4 separate regions of the Homo sapiens genome follow, and all the other regions are linked to region 3. The links are contacts of gene promoters, found by promoter capture Hi-C in blood cells and fetal thymus (Javierre and others, 2016). All regions are on one chromosome and are shown on one strand. Each heading gives the region's core, a stretch centred on a gene start or on the middle of the fragment in contact. The rest is flanking DNA. Distances are from core to core; before and after follow the strand shown.

Region 1 (4,505 bases), core at 1,168-3,667, 740 kb before region 3:
ATATATATACACACATATATGTATACATATATATACATGTATATACACATATACATATATACATATATACTTATATATACATATATACATATATACTTATATATACATATATACATATATATATACACACACACACACTATGTGCTTAAAAGTAAGTTATGTTTTCTTTTTGTCAACTTTTATTTTTAAGTTCCGGGGTACATGTGCAGGATGTCAAGGTTTGTTACATAGGTAAATGTGTGCCATGGTGGTTTGCCGCACAGATCAACCCATCACCCAGGTATTAAGCCCAGCACCCATTAGCTGTTCTTCTTGATGCTCTCCCTGCACCTCACAGGCCCCAGAGTGTGTTGTTCCCCTTCATATGTCCATGTGTTCTGCTCGTTCAGCTCTCACTTATAAGTGGGAACATGCAGTGCTTGGTTTTCTGTTCCTGCGTTAGTGTGCTGAGGATGACAGCTTCCAGCTCCATTCCAGAGTCTACGAAGAACTTAAACAAATATACAAGAAAAAAAAATTTTAAAGTGAGCAAAGGGCATGAACATTTTCTTATGTATGTACACATTATTGGGTCAGGCAACGTGGTAGGTGCATTGTGTACAGGATGTCATTTATTTCTGCAAGGTAGTTGATATACCCTGTTCCAGAAGAGGAAACCAAGTCTGAGAGAGGTTAAATAACTAGTCTACAGCCTAGGCAAAAGAGAGATGATCTTTGAACTCCAATTCGTGCAGTGGTCAAGGGGTATCCTCTTTGATTGCAACATGTTTAGAATGTTTTAAGGTTATTATTTTTCTGAATGCCTTCAAATGTGACAAGTATGCTCTACTGATCCCCATTGTGTCAGACCCAGCCTGATCTAACATTTATATTACCAGCCTGGTCCCAGTCAAAGGAGCTGGAGTTTTCAGATTCTGGTGCTAACCTGAATTCTACCTACCACTTCTTTACAAAGAGGCCTCTGCCGTGTTTGTACCAGCGGCAGGATGACTTGAAGCTCTCCATGGACATGCGGTGGGGGTGGAGGTGTTGATGGATATTGTCTTGGCTTTTGCCTTATGTGGGATTTTTAAGAAATGTGCAGGAAAAAAAAAACAGGAAAGTGTATTAGGAGAAGGCAGGATAGAAGTTTTCCTCACGTGGAGAGAGCAGGAGAATGGAGGAAGTGACTGCTGGAAGCAAAACTCTAAGAAAAAACCAATTTTACTTGGAGCTTAAAAAAGATTTTGCTGTGTAATGTGCATTGTAACTCTTCTCCCATCTCCCCAAGGCATCTTTGGTAAAGATGTCATTGTTGGGCTTTTTGTTTTCCATGGCACAATGCACTGAAAGGGCCTCAAGGGGAAAGCAAGTCATCTCTGGAAAGCTTAGCCAGAATTTGCAACAGAAAGAGTGGGAATTTTGGAATCAGGTCCTAGGCTTGCAAAAGAGCTCTTTTTCACAGCCTTAGCTTCCTCCTTTGTAAAATGGAAAAAAAAATAGTTTCTTTTTTGCAAAGTTGTTGTGAGAATTAAATAACACTCATGAGGGGCATTGTATGGAGCTTGGCACATTCTAGGCCCTCTTTTTATATTGAACTAATATGATCTTCTCTGTAATTCCCATGAATTAATTCCAGTTCTATTTTGCAAAACATTGATTCTTTAACCTTTTTCATGTAATGGTGCTCCAGTTTGTCTAGATCCTTCAAGAAGAGAAAATGCATATCAACATCTTTGTATCTAGTTGCTCTCAAGCTTAAAATGATGTCATTTTTCAATTATTGCTTTTATTATACAGTAAAAACATATTTAGAAGAGACTCAAGATAAATATTAAAAGTTAAGCTAGTTACTGAACAAATTTCTTAAATATTTACGAAAAATAAGATCAACACACATTTGACCATGGCAGCTTTTCTAAAGGCAAAGGATCTAATTTGGTGATTAACTAACCATATTGAGCACTCATTAGGTGTCAGGGATGTACCAGTTCTTCTACTGTATTTGGGTGTTTTTAATTATGAATAACCAAATACAAAAATCAAAGTAGTTTAAACAATGAGGAGCATTTATTATCACTCTTAAAAATAAATTCCCAAGGTGGGCAATTGCACGGATGGCTCAATGGCTTTACAATGTGAAAGATCCAGCCACTTGCTATCAATTCTTTTCTCTACATTGCCTTGGTTCTTTGCAAGATAACCTTGAAATTCCAGGCTCACATATAGAAATAACAACATATGGCTGAGGAAGGCATTTTCTCTCCTGTGATTCTTCTTATTAGGGAAGAAAACCTCTCTACCCCCTCAAGACTTCTCAATTTCCTTTATCCAGAATTGGGCTACCTCACTATGTCCCCAGGCAGTGCTTCTCAATTTTTTCACACCATGACACAAATACAAAGATAACGTTTTTGTGACACAGAGGGGTACCTGGGTAATGTTGCTTGTGGCCAGTCATACCATCCCAGGGCTTCAGCAGCTCAGCCTCACTTGAATGTCCCAAGGGCTTAAGGGATCCATACCTTATCACATCTATGACCCATCTGAGACATACCAGGGTATGCTGGCACATAGATTGGTATGCTCTGCTCTAAGCTACAAGGGAGGGTGAGAGAGCATGCATCCATATACATGCTCTAGTGAGAGAAGGATCTGCCAACGAGGAGGCTCTGCCAAGTAGTAGGAAGTGGTGGGGCAACCAACCGCATCAGTCATCTTTTCAAGGGTGCCTTCATCTATTCTAATTTTCACAACACATTTTAGGAGGAAGTATTCTGTGGAGGATAAAACCAAGGCTTATAATTTAAATGACTTGCCTGAGGTCACAGAACCAGTGAGTGGTTCAATTGACACAGCAGATGCAGATCCAGGTGTGTGCTGGGAAATGTTTAACAACCACCTTTCCAAATGTAGTTCCAACATGGCTATTGGTTAATATTTTCATTTAAGATAAAAATAAAACAACAAAAATGTATGTTAGAGCTTATTAGTCAATGATGTGACTTCATTGCTAAATTGAATGTTTTTATGCTATTCACCATGTAACAGTTATAGACACGACATGTCTTTTACATTTAATCTGCATAAAACATTTTCTCTGTCACTTAAGCCTAGACCAAGCTTGTCCAACCCTGGGCCTGTGGGCCGCATACAGCCCAGGATGGCTTTGAATGCAGCCCAACACAAATTCGTAAACTTTCTTAAAATGTGAGATTTTGTGTGTGTGTGTGATTTTGTTTCGTTTTGTTTTGTATTAGCTCATCAGCTATCATTAGTGTTAGCGTATTTTATGTGTGGCCCAAGACTATTTTTCTTCTGCCAATGTGGCCGAGGGAAGCAAAAGATTGGACAACCCTGGTCTAGCCCACAACCAGCAAAGCAATAAGTGAAGCCCTCATCTGTGGTGTCCGCTGATCAAGCTACCAAAGAAAACTCACTAAATGTGGTATTGGGAAGAGATGTACAATTACATATAGGGAATTTCCACCATGCAGACACAATGCATGTAAATTGCCTAAAGAACAAAGACAATATTAAAATGTATTAACATAATTTGGAAGTGATGTTTTTATCACATACTACCTTTGTTTAAAATTTATTTCATTGGAAGTTTATCTAACTTAATTTTTATTTCTATTTTTATATTTATTTATTGATTGATTTTTGAGATGGAGTCTCACCTTGTCACCCAGGCTGGAGTGCAATGGCGCAATCTCAGCTCACTGCAACCTCTGCCTCCTGGGTTCAAGCAATTCTCCTGCCTCAGCCTCCCAAGTAGCTAGGATTACAGGCTCCCGACACCACACCTGGCTAATTTTTGTATTTTTAGTAGAGACGGGGTTTCACCATGTTGGCCAGGCTGATCTCAAACTCCTGATCTCAGGTGATCCACCCACCTCAGCCTCCCAAAGTGCTGGGAATATAGGCATGAGACACTGCACCCAGCCTATATCATTTAATTTTTAATAATGAGTATTTAACAAACAGCAGGCAAAATTTCTGAAAATTTAATAATCTGCTGTCATGAGCCAGTATAGGCCAGCTCTCCACACCACGGACTGGAACTAAGTTCAGCACTCTTTCCACTCCTGCTGCCTTTACTACCAGCATGTAAAAGCAATGATGCTCAGTATCGTACGGGGGACAAACCTGGGTACCCGTCATTAATTTCTGTGACCCTGGGTAGTTACTACCAGATGCTTAGTTTTCTCTTCTATAAAGGAGGAGATTAAGAGTCCTTGCCCTGTCTACCTGCAAGGGTTTTTGAGAGGATTAAACTGGTTAGTCTGTATGATAGTGCTTTGTAAACTGCAGAGTCAGGTTCAGATAAAAGGCTTTATGATGATGACAATTTCATTACTGTTTTCAACCAGGCCACCATTGTTAAGGATGCAGTGTGTCGCTGCTTTCAAAAGTATGGTTTAGTTTGAGATCTTCTGTAATGCCCAGGATAGACAGTAAACACCCAGAAGAATTGTTCTGAAGAAGCCCACTCAAATCTGTGCTAGTCTTTACTTAGCACA
Region 2 (4,274 bases), core at 1,593-4,092, 650 kb before region 3:
CTACTAAAGCTATCTTGAAGAAATGGAATTGTGAGAATAGGGATGGTAATGTTGTCCAGAAAAAGTTCTCTCTTTTAAGTTCTCCTATAAATACTTTCCAATTCAAGGAGATACTGTTCATTGTTAAATGTTTTCATCCAAAGCAGTGTTCCTCACCCTGGCTTCCGGTTTGCTTTTTCTTTTTCTTTTCTTTTCTCTCTTTTCTTTTCTTCTGTCTCTTTTCTTTTCTGTCCTTTCTTTCTTTTTTCTTTTCTTTTCCTTTCTTTCTTTCTTTTATTCTTTCTTTCCTTCTTTCTTTCTTTTTTCTTTCTTCCTGCCTTCCTGCCTGCCTTCTTTCCTTCCTTCCTTTCCTTCTTTTCTTTTCTTTTTTGACAGCATCTAACTCTGTTACCCAGGCTGGAGCGCAGTGGTGCATAGCTCACTGCAGCTGCAGTCTCAAACTGCTGGGCTCAAGTGATCCTCCTGGCTCAGCCTCCCAAGTAGCTGGGACTACAGGTGCACACCACCACACCTGGCTAATTTAAACTTTTTTTTTTTTTTTTTTTTAAAGACATGAGGTCTTGCTATGATTCCCAGGCTGGTCTCAAATGCCTGTCCTCAAGAATCCTCCCACTTTGGCCTCCCAAAGTGCTGAGATTATAAGCATGAGCCACTGCACCCGCACTTGGCTTGGTTTTCTTTTCATTGGCTTATGTGGTGGTTGGAGTTATCTCTTTTGCATGTTGACAGGTGTCATAAAGCCATAGGAGACTTTGAGATGGCCTGAAAATAAGATCATGGATTTTTCCTGGCAGAGAGTTTAGTTTACTTTCAAACCCCGCTAGCCTTTGCTACTCAAAGCCTGGTTCATAAAACCAGGGCTTTGACTTCACTTAGATGCTTCTTAGAATTGCAGAATCTCTTGCCCCACAGTCTTGCTCTCTCAGGCTGGAGTACAGTAGCACAATCTCAGCTCACTGCAACTTCCACCTCCTGAATTCAGGTGATTCTGGTGTCTCAGCCTCCCAAGTAGCTGGGATTATAGGCATGCACCATCATACCCAGCTACTTTTTGTATTTTTAGTAGAGACAGGTTTTTGCCATGTTGTCCAGGCTGATCTCAGACTCCTGGCCTCAAGTGATCTGCCCATCTTGGCCTCCCAGAATGCTTGGATTACAGGTGTGAGCCACTGCACCGGCCACAATCTGCATTTTAACAAACTTCCCAGGTGGTGCCAATGACATTAAAGTTGCAGCAGCACTGCTCAGGAGCTGTGCATTGGAATCACCTGGAGTACTTGAAAAACTATTGATGCTCAGGTCCCAACCACAAAGACTCCCCCAACTTAACTGGCATTGGGGTTTTAAAAAATTTCTCCAGGTCATTGTAACTAATGCACAAGGTGAGAACTTGTGCTCAAGAGACATTCTTTCTTCTTCCTCCACTTATTTCTACAATTGCTTTTCTCTTAAAGTAAAAATCTCAAGCTACAGTCAAAGTTCATTTCATGTCCATTTTATAGATAATGCCACACAATGTGAAGATTCATTCTGAATTTAAAAAATAACCTTTACAAATATCTTCTGAACCTTTGCCAAGGTCCCCACATCCCTCTTTTATTGTGAGGTCCAGAACTAGACACAGTCCTCCAGTACAGCCCTCAACATCACTGAACAGCAGCACAAGGGATGTTTGTATTCTTCTGAATGAAAGGTACTGTTATAAAGAAAGTCAGAACATTCGAAGGGGGTGGGGGCGGCTTTGATGGCCAAGCAAAAGATTTCCTCATGCCTACACTCAGTCTGGGAGTGAATGAGCCAGTTACATAAGGAGAAAATCCTCCTTCCTAGTGTTGAGCTTTCCTAATTGGAGGACTAAATGTGTCATTATTTAACTAAATAATTAATAAGCTTTCTTGTAATTCATGGATGACTAAACAGATAAACTCACCTGTACCAAACTTTCAGAGAGAGTTCCACTGATTTAATAAATTTGGTTCATGTCATCAGCATAAAAGTCATCTGAACCTTGAGCCTCAAAGACCAGTGACCTCCAAACTTGACAACTCAACTTATAAGAATCAACTCGGCTGCTTACTAAACATATATAGATGTCTGAGCAAAGGTATTTGTGGTTTTTAAAAAACTACATCAATTCTTCTCAAACTTTAATGGGGGTGGTGATGTGGTGAGGGCAGGTCTTGTAAAAAATTTAGACTCCCATCAACAGGTCTGAGTAGGGCCTGAGATTCTGCATTCCTAACGATCTCAAAAGTGATACCGTGCCGCTACTTCATGGACCACACTTTTAGTGGCAAGGCCCTAGACAATTTTGATAATCAGCCAGTTTGGGAACCAGAACTTGAGGCATCATAAATGTTACCTGAAATATGAAAAAGCTAATCTCCGCCTCAATGTTTATCAGCAGCTCAGGGTGCATCAGTGAGTGTTACACAGACGGATACAAAATGTGGGTGGGCAAATTTAATTTCAAACGGTGGAAGAAACCTTATTGAGAATGTTTAATTATGTTCATGCTCCGCTAATACGAGAATAGAGTGGACTCTTAAGTTCCTTTATTTCTCTAGTGATCTATTCTTTAGAGTTCACCAGCAAACACAAAGGCGGGAGGAACCGTTACTTTAAATTCATATTATTTTAGCTGATGTATCTGGAGCACAGTGATAAATTAATCATGACGTCTGGTCTGATTCACAATCATGTTCTAGCCTAATTTACACTTTGCATTTGCAGAACTGAAATGCGATGCATTAAAATGGTCACACACCACGGATTTTTCTCCTCGCTGCACCCATGGAGGGAGGCGCTGTCTCCGCCTTTTCCTGTAAGCACCTGCCCGGGGCCCAAGCCCACAGTGGATGGCTCGTCCAGCTCAGAGAGCGCCCAGGACGCAGTGAGGAAGCAGAATTGGGCGCTCAAGACTCAGACCCGGACTGATGAGCTAAGACTGCTTGCAAGAGGGAGTGGGAGTCGTTAAAAAAATATCCTCGTGGCTTAATGACCAAGGCGGGTTTATTCTCAAGGAAGGGGGAGCGGCGTGGTGGTGTTACTAAACATAACAGATGGCAGCTGTCTGCGGCTATATAGGGCGCGCTGACAAATCCCTCTGGATGGCCACGCGGCGCTGGGCTGCGGGGCCTGGGTGCACTTCGCGCCTGGCTCGGAGGGCGCCGCCTGCGGGAGGACCTCCGGGAGCCGAGCTGCCTCCCCGCAAACCCGGCCCGGGCCCACGCGGGCTCAGGGCGCCAGGCGGGGTGCGCCGAGGTGCAGCTCCCCGGCCCTAGGCTTCGCTGGGGTGGGGGTCGAGGCCTCTCCGCGGGTGGCTCCCTCCACCCTGCCGCCCCGCCTCGCGGCTGGGAGTTGCCCGGGAGCTGTGAATTCACTAGACCAGCATTCACCCAGGGCCTGCGGGGGCTGTGAAAGGATGGGAGGACTCGGCTCCCCAACCCACCTTTACAAAGCCGAAGTGTGGCTGGTGAGGTACCCGACACGCACACACTGCACCGTGATACTGAACCATGCCTGAGTGTGCATTTTGTGCGAAATGGGTCTTAGCCATGATTTCCATGTGGTGAACATCTTTTCCAAACCCCGGATTGAAACACGATTATCAGGTCAATAACATTTTTTCTATGATTTGGAGATTGATTCAGATGGGCAAAATCTTACAAAGTTAATAATCTTATAAAAATCTTACATAATAATCTTAAGTCGCTTTTAGAGAGACATTTAAAAAATATGTCTATTGAAAATAATAAAATTCAGTGAAATTGGACAGGACTGTGGCAGTTGGGGAAGCTTCCTGGAAGATCGGGCAGAAAGAGAGCTTGCCAGTTTGGGCTTGGGATGGGCAAAAACAGAGGGGATTGAGAGTTCTGGGGACTCAATAACGTACATCACTGTGATTTTCAAGCGGCAAATTTCTTTAGAAAGGTAAGGCCAGACAGACTAATGGGAACTGTCCAAGGAGAGGGAACAGAGGAACCCTCTGCACTTTTGGGGCTATGGTCTCTGAAATCGGCTGCAAGGACCACCACCTAGGGGTCGTGTGGTGCATGTCATGTGCTTGGCTTTCTGCAGCAGTGTTGGAGAGTTCCATGGGAAAAGCCTCCTCTCCCCACCCCTCATCATCTCCTCGACCCCTTTCTCAACAAATGTCAGGGACTAAGGCTTCCTTATTTTCTCCTCAATCACCTTGCAGTGCTTTTCACTGAAGGTGAGAAAGGTTGAGGTTCATTCATTCATTTAACAAATGTTTAAGAGCCTTCTATGTG
Region 3 (4,128 bases), core at 1,080-3,579:
ACTCCCTTCATCAATAAAAACAAAAGAAATGTGTAACAGGACAGTATGGTGCTTGACATATAGAAGAGGCTCAATTGGTTGAATCAATGAAAGCATAAGTAAACATCTTGCACTTTTGACTATAAAGTACCCAAATTTATGAAACCTAGTATTTAACATAGCCCTGAAGGCCTAACAAGTCTTGTGTACCAAAAAGATCTCTCCTCAATGTAGCTGCCAAAGCATGTGATTCAAGTTTAATCTACACTGATGTATTGTTGTACACAAAAGCCTGGACCAGTATTTGGAACTTGCTATGACTAAAGAAGATATTTCAAAATGGCCCTCAAAAGAGGGTATGTAGCTCAAGATCTAGCTTAAAGTTAACATGATAAAATGTTCTGCCTCTGTAACTTGGCATTAAAAAAAATAATTTTTAAAGCTAAAATTAACAATTTGCAAATTCCCTTCAAATACATGAATATTACTATGACACACGTACCAATTAAATGTTTGAAAGGCAGCTGATGATCTCGAAGGTTTAGGTGTGCAATATGTCCAATCCTGCTAAACCCTGAAGTTACATCTTGACCTTCAGGAAGCACAGCTCTCAAGATTTCTTCTGACTTAAAGTGTTCATATGTTAGTTCCAAATTGTATTTAGAGATCTGTGGACTGACATTAAGCTGCTCTAAAACACTGAGTTCTGCTTTCTCAAAGGAATCATGAGTAAATATTTTATAGGGATCCAACATGATTAGTCTACTTTCTTTATCTTCCGGATCTTCAATCACACGTCTTATGCCTGGGCGCTGCAATGCTGCCCTTTTTAGGGATCGCATCAATTTACTGACTATTTCTTTCCTCACTTTAAGCACTGGAATGTTGACTGTCTTTTTAAAAGCTGTTCTATCAAGTTTTGTCATGCCTCGGACATCAGAAGGTGGTGAAAACAATTCAGTCTCTCTCTCATGTGTTTCTGTTTCTGGCATGGTTGAGAATCTTTTTCTTTGACCCAATAAGAAAATACCAGGTGCTTCCAAAAGCATCTGTGTCAGGGATGTCCAAGCTACTGGAATCAACGATTTTGATTCAGTTATGCTATGGCTTTCCAGTTTCAGAAATCTTCCTGAGAATCCAAATGGCCTCCATAAGATCCTTAAAAAAAAAAAAAAAAAATTCACACACGACAGCTTTTGAGAATAAAAATCTAAATTCTACTATCTCAAATAACGGGCTAAATGCTGACAAATAAAACGTTTAGTGATGTGTGGGAAGTATACTATCTTTTCCAGACTAGGATGACTTCTTCAGGAAGTCGTATTAGTGGTAGATAATAGTGGTATATATTAAATTTACACCTTCAACCCATCTGCTCCCAGTTCAGAGGGCTTAGTGATCCATTAGCCATACTCAATGATCCTCTTCACCCACAATTTTCTAGATAATACATTTGGGATTGGAAGACTGAAGTATGAGTTAAATGGTCATCTGTAAATGAAATAGTCATTATACATGACCATTACTAGTGGTGATATTTATTAGGATAGTCTCATGGGTGCTTATTGTGTCAGATACTGCGCTAAATGCTTTATGTACATTATGAATCTTGGGAGGTGTGCAGTATTGCACCCTCATTTTGTAAATAAGTAAACTAAAGCTCAGACGTAAGGTAACCCACCCAAAGTCTCCCAGCTGATAAGTGGCTAAACATGGATTAAAACCTAGTTTTGACTGACTTCGGTGCTTGTGTTCTTAATATATTGCTCTGTTGTTTGTTTTCGATGCTTTACTGCCACATGTCCTGCCTTTAACTAGAGGCTTCTGTATTTTGAGGACGAGAGCTTTGCTGATTGTTATATGCATAGTATCAGTTATTCACTGTCTTCTAAAATACCAAAGAATTTACTTGTAAGGGGAAAGGGCCCTGTCCCAGAATCCTGTAAAGCAACGAAGTCTAACTTCACCGTCAGAGATCAAATTGGTTCTAGCAGCTGACCAGCTGGGTGACCCTGGATAAATTACTATAAGTCTCGGTTTTCCCACCAGTAAAATGTGGCGAAAGGCTTTTGAAACATTCCTTACTATCCAGAACCTCGAAACTAAGCTCAGCACCTAGGCGGGTGGGTGACCTCGCGATGTTTCTGTGCCCAGGCAGCACATGGCAGAGAGCAGCCCTGGGCGGGCTGGTACCTCCCCTGGACCATTAGCCCCTAACGCGGCCGCCACCTCACCAAAGCACCATTCCAATTCCCCACGTCGCTCTGCAGCTGGATCCGCGAGCCGACCCCTCACCTCCCGCTCCGGTACCGATCGGATGTGGGTCGCGGGTGGATGGGCGGGTCTTCTATGACATCATCACTGTTCGCCGCGAAGAGGGCGCGCGTCATCAGATCAAGTCGACTCGCTCCTCTCCTTCCAGGCCCTGGTGAAGTACGGAATGCCGGAAGGGCCGGGCTCAAAGCTCCGCCTCTGGCGCGACCGACGACTGGAGCGCAGGGCAGGGGTAGAGGCTCGTAGATGGAACTGGTAGTCAGCTGGAGAGCAGCATGGAGGCGTCCTGGGGGAGCTTCAACGCTGAGCGGGGCTGGTATGTCTCTGTCCAGCAGCCTGAAGAAGCGGAGGCCGAAGAGTTGAGTCCGTTGCTAAGCAACGTAAGTGGGCTGTGTTCGCTTCCCCGCGCTGACGCCCTCCGGCTTCCCTCAAGTGCCTGCCAAATAAGACCCAGAAAAGGAGGACCGCACCGGGACAGGGGAGATGCTGGAGCCTGAACCCTGGGGGATGGGGTCTGAAGGCAGCCGCCGAGATTCAGATGAGATTGGCGCAGTTATGAACGTGATAGCAGCCTAGCATACTCTAGAAAGAAAAGATGAAAAGCGTCGGGTGGAAGAGATGCAGCGTTGAGTGGAAGCTGCGAACATGATGGGATGAGCGGCCCTAGGATTATGTACTCACTGCTGTTAGTTAGTATTTTTGTCACCTTATTTTCTCCACCAGTCTCGTGAGGTCTTTGCAAGAGTCACAGGATTTTCCTCTTCCGACTTAGTCATGGGGGGAGGGAAAATAATAAACATTTTAATACAGAAATTCTTAGCGGTAGAATGGAAGTGGCTTGGTAGTAAGTGCATAGCACGTTCCTGACCCTAAAGCCTGTGCAGTGGGCACTCCGCTTTTTAACTCGAGTCCTAGACACTGTTCCCAGGACTTTGTTCCCGGTGCTGTTTGTGGGGAGGGGGATGTTTTCAGGGATACTGCCAGAACAACGTGAATTGCTTCTGTTTATAATATTGTCATTGCAAGATATTCCTGACCATCCTTCCAGTTTGGTAGAACTAATTCATTAGATATATAAGTAGAGATTAGTTGTGCAGTCCTAGTAATTGAGGAGAAACAACTGCCCACAGCAGTCCCAGGTTGACTCAGCAATTCTTTAGTAATCACATGAGCTGAGGCCTTATCCCTCCTCTCTCTCCCCACTCCATTCCCATCCTATCTTCATCTCTTGCAGTCACAAGGTTAGTCATGGCCCTTCCTGAACTCTGCCTGTCTTGTGTACTGGTGGAAATCATTTTCCTAAGAAACCCTAGATTCCTGGAGCTGCAGTAGTGGGAGGTGGGAAGGAAAGGAAAGGAAATTAGTGTTGGTTAAGCAACGAGTGTGTCATACAAACCCTGGTGGTTTGCAGCTTTTTTCCATAATCTTTCATTTATGGAATTTCTTTACGAAATTTTAACTTCACCGTCCAAACATTTAACACTACTAAATTTGTGTGCTTACAGGAACTTCACAGACAGCGATCCCCAGGTGTTTCATTTGGTTTATCAGTGTTTAATTTGATGAATGCCATCATGGGAAGTGGCATCCTTGGCTTAGCTTATGTTTTGGCTAATACCGGTGTCTTTGGATTTAGGTGAGTCTTCATATTTTAGCATCAAATTTTTTTTTCCATTTTGATAATATACGGAGAAGTAGAGAGATAGATTCCAGAAGCTGCTATTATACAATTTCTAGTTAGTTATTTCTGGGGTTTTAGCATTTTTCTTGTTATTCTTGTTGCTAGTGTGTACCTTGGAGGGCTACTACATAGCTTCTTAAATACACAGAAGTGTGACTAGTTTTTAAAAATGGGAACTTGATCCACATTTCATT
Region 4 (4,612 bases), core at 256-2,755, 790 kb after region 3:
GACCCAAAATGTCCTCCTACTACCCCCTTCCCTTCCACCCCTGCATTGTAATCAGATATAATAGAGCCCGTGTTTATGGCTGCAGGGCAAATGTCTTTATTGTTTGTTGCTGGTTTTAAAGTAAAAGTTCTACATATTTATATTTGTATAGCGTATTAGTCACTCGCATCAACACTTTGAGACATTTATTTTAGCTAATGTTTTATTTAAAATCTGGCATTTTTTATCTACTAATTTCAGGTCTTACATAGAAACCTATAATATGCACAAATGTGGCTTCATTGTTTTATCCAAAGTGGTAAGAAGACTGTTACATTGACTTTTTTAAGGCCTTGTTTTTTAAAATTTTTTGTTAACTTAGCACAGCAGAACAGTTTCAGATAGTTTATTCATTATGCTGTTTATATCCACAGAAAATATATGTGAACCTCGAAAATTTGAGACACGTCTCAGTTAATTTAGAAAGGTTATTTTGCCAAGGTTGAGGACGCACCCGTGACACAGCCTCAGGAAGTCGTGTTGACATGCGCCCAAGGTGGTCAGGGCACAGCTTGGTTTTGTACATTTAGGGAGACATGAGACATCAATCAATATATGCAAGAAGTACGTTGGTTCGTTCTGGAAAGGCGGGACAACTTGAAGCAAAGGCAGGAAGACTGGAAGTGGGGAGGGAGCTTTCAGGTCACAGATTGGTGATACACAAATGCTTGCGTTCTTTTGAGTTTCTGATTAGCTTTTCCAAAGGAGGCAAATCAGATATGCATCTATCTCAGTGAGCCGAGAAGTCACTTTGAATAGAATGGGAGAGGTTTGCCCTAAGCAGTTTCCAGCTTGAGTTTTCCTTAGTGATCTTGGGTGCCCAAGATACTTTCCTTTCATGTACATTTCCTATGTTATTTCATTGATTGATTGCCAACAAAGCCTTGTTGCTCTCTTGGATGTTTGGACAAAGCTTTTGGTTGTATGCTGGAGTATGCTCTTCTCCCTTCCTCCTCCTTTCTTCTGATGAGCTTGCAGTGCTCTGGACAATTAGGAGTGCGGGTTACTTTGTGCTGTTTCTCTATCTTTTTCGCCTCGGCTTCGCAAGGACAGAGGAGATTTAGTGCAAATCCCTGAGAGTATTGGAGAAAATGTTCGTTAGGTAAAAAGTAAAGTAGAGGTTCTGCTTCAAAGAGTTTCCTCCCCATCTAATTAAGACTAAATAGTAACTTATCTTAGAAGCAAAATTTATTCAAAGACCTATGCTAACATTCTTAAATATCTGCTAGCTGTAATAAAGAAATCAGTGTATTTTATGTTCTTAGCTCCCACAATTTAGCCTAAATATTTGCCCTGGCGTGCTTATACTGGTCCAAGCAAGCATTAAGTCATAGCCTGTTCTTCTTCCTTATTTAAAAGTGTTTTTACCTTTCTCAGCATTCCACAAGTTACTTCAAGTTCTAAGTTGCTAGTCAATGAAGACAGATACAGAATGTGAAGTCCCGTTCCAGCCAATAGAAACCGGACACAGCAGTAAAGTAGATGTGTCAAGTTATAAATGACCCTGTCTCCTTTGTTCAGTGTAGCAAAACTGCTGGCGACTGTACCCTTTTGTGCAGAAAGTAAAAAAATGGCCTTGCTGAAGAAATAAAATTTACGTTCAAGTGATACTTCTTTATAGCACCAAAGAACAAGCATTTTTGGCAATTGTATATTAAAATGCACATAGTTCTGTAACATAACCATGATTATTTTAACATTATGGGTTTTAAATATTTAACCAATAGTAATTTGAAACCCCTTCCTTCTTGCTCTTCAATTTGGCAAGTAAAGTTGATGCTTTTGGAAGCTGCGTCATGTTTACCTAGTAGTTGCCTTTGCCTTGGTGTAAAATTATCTCTTTGTGCTTGAATCATGAAAGAATCAGGTATGGAATCCTCATCAAATTATAACTACCGTTTAAACAAGTATATACTTTTGGCTTTTGTTCATTACTTATTCACTTAATGAGTCGTAATATATTTTCTCTCTGTTTATTAGTGGCAGAATGAGAAATTTAGAAAAGAACATGTTTACAAAAGAAGCTTTAGCTTTGGCTTGGCGATATTTTTTACCTCCATACACCTTCCAGATCAGAGTTGGTGCTTTGTATCTGCTATATGGATTATATAATACCCAACTGTGTCAACCAAAACAAAAGGTAATACTTAGTGAGTTATTTTTCCTTAGCAGAAATGTAAAACAAGTACCATATTTTTATAATAAATATTATATGATTAAATATGATTTAAATAAAATGCCAGTATTTTAAAATTATAATATGTTTGTGAAAAAATATTTACATTTAGTACAACTTTTTTTTCTTCCTGGTTGCAGATCAGAGTTGCCCTGAAGGATTGGGATGAAGTTTTAAAATTTCAGCAAGATTTAGTAAATGCACAGCATTTTGATGCAGCTTATATTTTTAGGAAGCTACGACTAGACAGAGCATTTCACTTTACAGCAATGCCCAAATTGGTATGTTGCCTAAAATAATTTGGTTTTTTCAAAATGAGCAATTATACTTTATTGTCCATAAAACCTCTCAATCTCCAGAAAATGGAATAAGTATTGATAGTGTTCAAGACTTTTAGCTTTTTTTTTTTTTAGACAGAGTCTTGCTCTGTCGCCCAGGCTGGAGTGCAGTGGCACCATCTCGGCTGACTGCAACCTCCGCCTCCCGGGTTCGAGGGATTTTCCTGCCTCAGCCTTCTGAGTAGCTGGGACTACAGGCATGCGCCACCACACCAAGCTAATTTTTGTATTTTTAGTAGAGACAAGGTTTCACCATGTTGTCCAGGATGGTCTTGATCTCTTGACCTCGTGATCCACTCACCTTGGCCTACCAAAGTGTTGGGATTACAGGCGTGAGCCACTGCGCCCGGCCTGGCTTGTAACTTTTTTTGTGTGTGTGTGCCTTTTTGATACAGAGTCTTGCCCTGTCGCCCAGGCTGGAGTACAGTGGTGCTATCTCAGCTCACTGCAACCTCCGCCTCCAGGGTTCAGGCAATTCTCCTGTCTCAGTCTCCTGAGTAGCTGGGACTACAGGCGCCCTCCACCACGCCTAGCTAATTTTTGTATTTTTAGTAGAGATGGGGTTTCACCATATTGGTCAGGCTGGTCTTGAACTCCTGACCTCAGGTGATCCACCCGCCTCAGCCTCCCAAAGTGCTGCTCACCTCAGGTGAGCCACCATGCCCGGCCTTGTAGCTTTTTTAAAATAGGAGAAGGTATTTTCTAATTACTACTTTTTTTTCTGCAAGCAAAAATTTAGCCTTTGCTTTTTAAATGCAGTGTATCTGGGTGCCACATATTAAGCGAACTGTTTTGAGAACAAATTAGATTTGGCATCTGCATTTGCTCATGTCTCAAACATCAGAGGAGGTTACTGAAAGACGTACAAAATTGTTAAAAATTCTTTGGTGAAAAGTTGAAACTTCTAATAGCATTTGTTTTTTTTTAATCTAGTGGTAATTGAGACACTAGGTTGAAGAGCACTAGTTCTGGTTCTGCCATTAGCTGGCAAATTATGTAATTTCTGTCTTATCTGAATTTGTAGGCATGTGGCATGGCATGTGAGAGGATACTTCACAAGTCTAACAGTCTTTGGAACGTGGATATTTAACAGATGTACCCTTACAGCTGGTTTTGTTTTATCTGTGTTTACTTATAGACAATTTTTAGTGCTGGCTTATATTTCAATACTTTTAACAATACTGTTTAAAAGATACTCATTTAAAAAGACACGTATTATCACATAGCTGTCATATAGGATGAAGAAAAAAATTCACCGAGCTGAAGTTACAGAAGAATTTAAGGACCCAAGTGATCGTGTGATGAAACTTATCACTTCTGATGTATTAGAGGTAAATTTTCTTTTATGCTCTTGAAAATTTTTAAAAATTGTTTTATTGCCAACTACATATTGAGGTTATACCTTCATCTACTGGATACTGATTTTTCTAATGATTTTAACCACTCTAGGATGCTATTTCTCTAGAGTATCAGACATAAAATAGCCTAAATATATCAAGGCTTACAAATCTTGAAATAGCGTGAGAAAAAAAGATGTAGAAGACTGGACCTGGACTGAAGATGTGTGGATTCTGTTACTAAAACTATTGTTTGTATTTGACTTTAGTTAGGTCATAAAACAAGAGTTTAAAGTGACTTTACTTACTTTTTTAAAAAAACAATATACATGACCAGGCATGGTGGCTCACACCTGTAATCTCAGCACTTTGGGAGGCCGAGGTGGGTGGATCACGAAGTCAGGAGTTTGAGACTAGCCTGGCCAATATGGTGAAATCCCGTCTCTACTAAAAATACAAAAGTTAGCTGGGCATGGTGGCGCACGTCTGTGGTCCCAGCTACTGGGGAGGCTGAGGCTGGAGAATCACAAACCCCAGAGGTAGAGGTTGCAGTGAGCTGAGATCGCACCGCTGCACTCCAGCCTGGGCAACAGAGCAAGATTCCGTTTTGAAAAACAAAAAAACCAATGTGCATTTATTTCCTGAGGTTTTTTTTTTTTTTTTTTTTCTCACACGGAGTCTTGCTCTGTCACCCAGGCTGGAGTGCAGTGGTGCAATCTCAG

Evidence for each region. The method cuts DNA at HindIII sites, captures the fragments that hold promoters and counts their contacts. A CHiCAGO score of 5 or more calls a contact.
Region 1: a contact is called between a fragment that was not itself captured here and the fragment with the promoter of TRMT5 in region 3, in 1 of 17 cell types (activated CD4 T cells). The highest score is 5.1, in activated CD4 T cells.
Region 2: a fragment that was not itself captured here is called in contact with the fragment with the promoter of TRMT5 in region 3 in 3 of 17 cell types (naive CD8 T cells, total B cells and total CD8 T cells); the score reaches 6.4 in naive CD8 T cells.
Region 4: a contact is called between a fragment that was not itself captured here and the fragment with the promoter of TRMT5 in region 3, in 1 of 17 cell types (fetal thymus). The highest score is 7.8, in fetal thymus.

Annotation. Positions count from the first base shown.
Region 1 is chr14:60,239,965-60,244,469 of GRCh38, forward strand. It overlaps LOC101927702 (a long non-coding RNA gene), which reads right to left. Exons shown (of 3, transcript NR_188027.1): 2 at 2,799-2,906; 3 at 162-490. Among named protein-coding and RNA genes, the nearest start is that of PPM1A, 7.0 kb to the right of the region's middle. The HindIII fragment of the contact is 1,366 bases long and covers 1,735-3,100 here.
Region 2 is chr14:60,324,783-60,329,056 of GRCh38, forward strand. No RefSeq gene overlaps it. Among named protein-coding and RNA genes, the nearest start is that of LINC02322, 3.7 kb to the left of the region's middle. RefSeq lists an enhancer at 2,967-3,026 and a silencer at 3,137-3,446. The HindIII fragment of the contact is 1,908 bases long and covers 1,889-3,796 here.
Region 3 is chr14:60,978,750-60,982,877 of GRCh38, forward strand. It overlaps TRMT5 (tRNA methyltransferase 5), which reads right to left and starts at 2,330. Exons shown (of 5, transcript NM_020810.3): 1 at 2,214-2,330; 2 at 482-1,137. The coding sequence starts at 2,224. It overlaps SLC38A6 (solute carrier family 38 member 6), which reads left to right and starts at 2,496. Exons shown (of 16, transcript NM_153811.3): 1 at 2,496-2,633; 2 at 3,759-3,889. The coding sequence starts at 2,529. RefSeq lists an enhancer at 2,220-2,599. The HindIII fragment of the contact is 5,504 bases long and covers 1-4,128 here.
Region 4 is chr14:61,764,857-61,769,468 of GRCh38, forward strand. SNAPC1 (small nuclear RNA activating complex polypeptide 1) reads left to right here. Exons shown (of 10, transcript NM_003082.4): 2 at 2,020-2,179; 3 at 2,356-2,496; 4 at 3,780-3,884. Among named protein-coding and RNA genes, the nearest start is that of SNAPC1, 4.7 kb to the left of the region's middle. The HindIII fragment of the contact is 1,111 bases long and covers 951-2,061 here.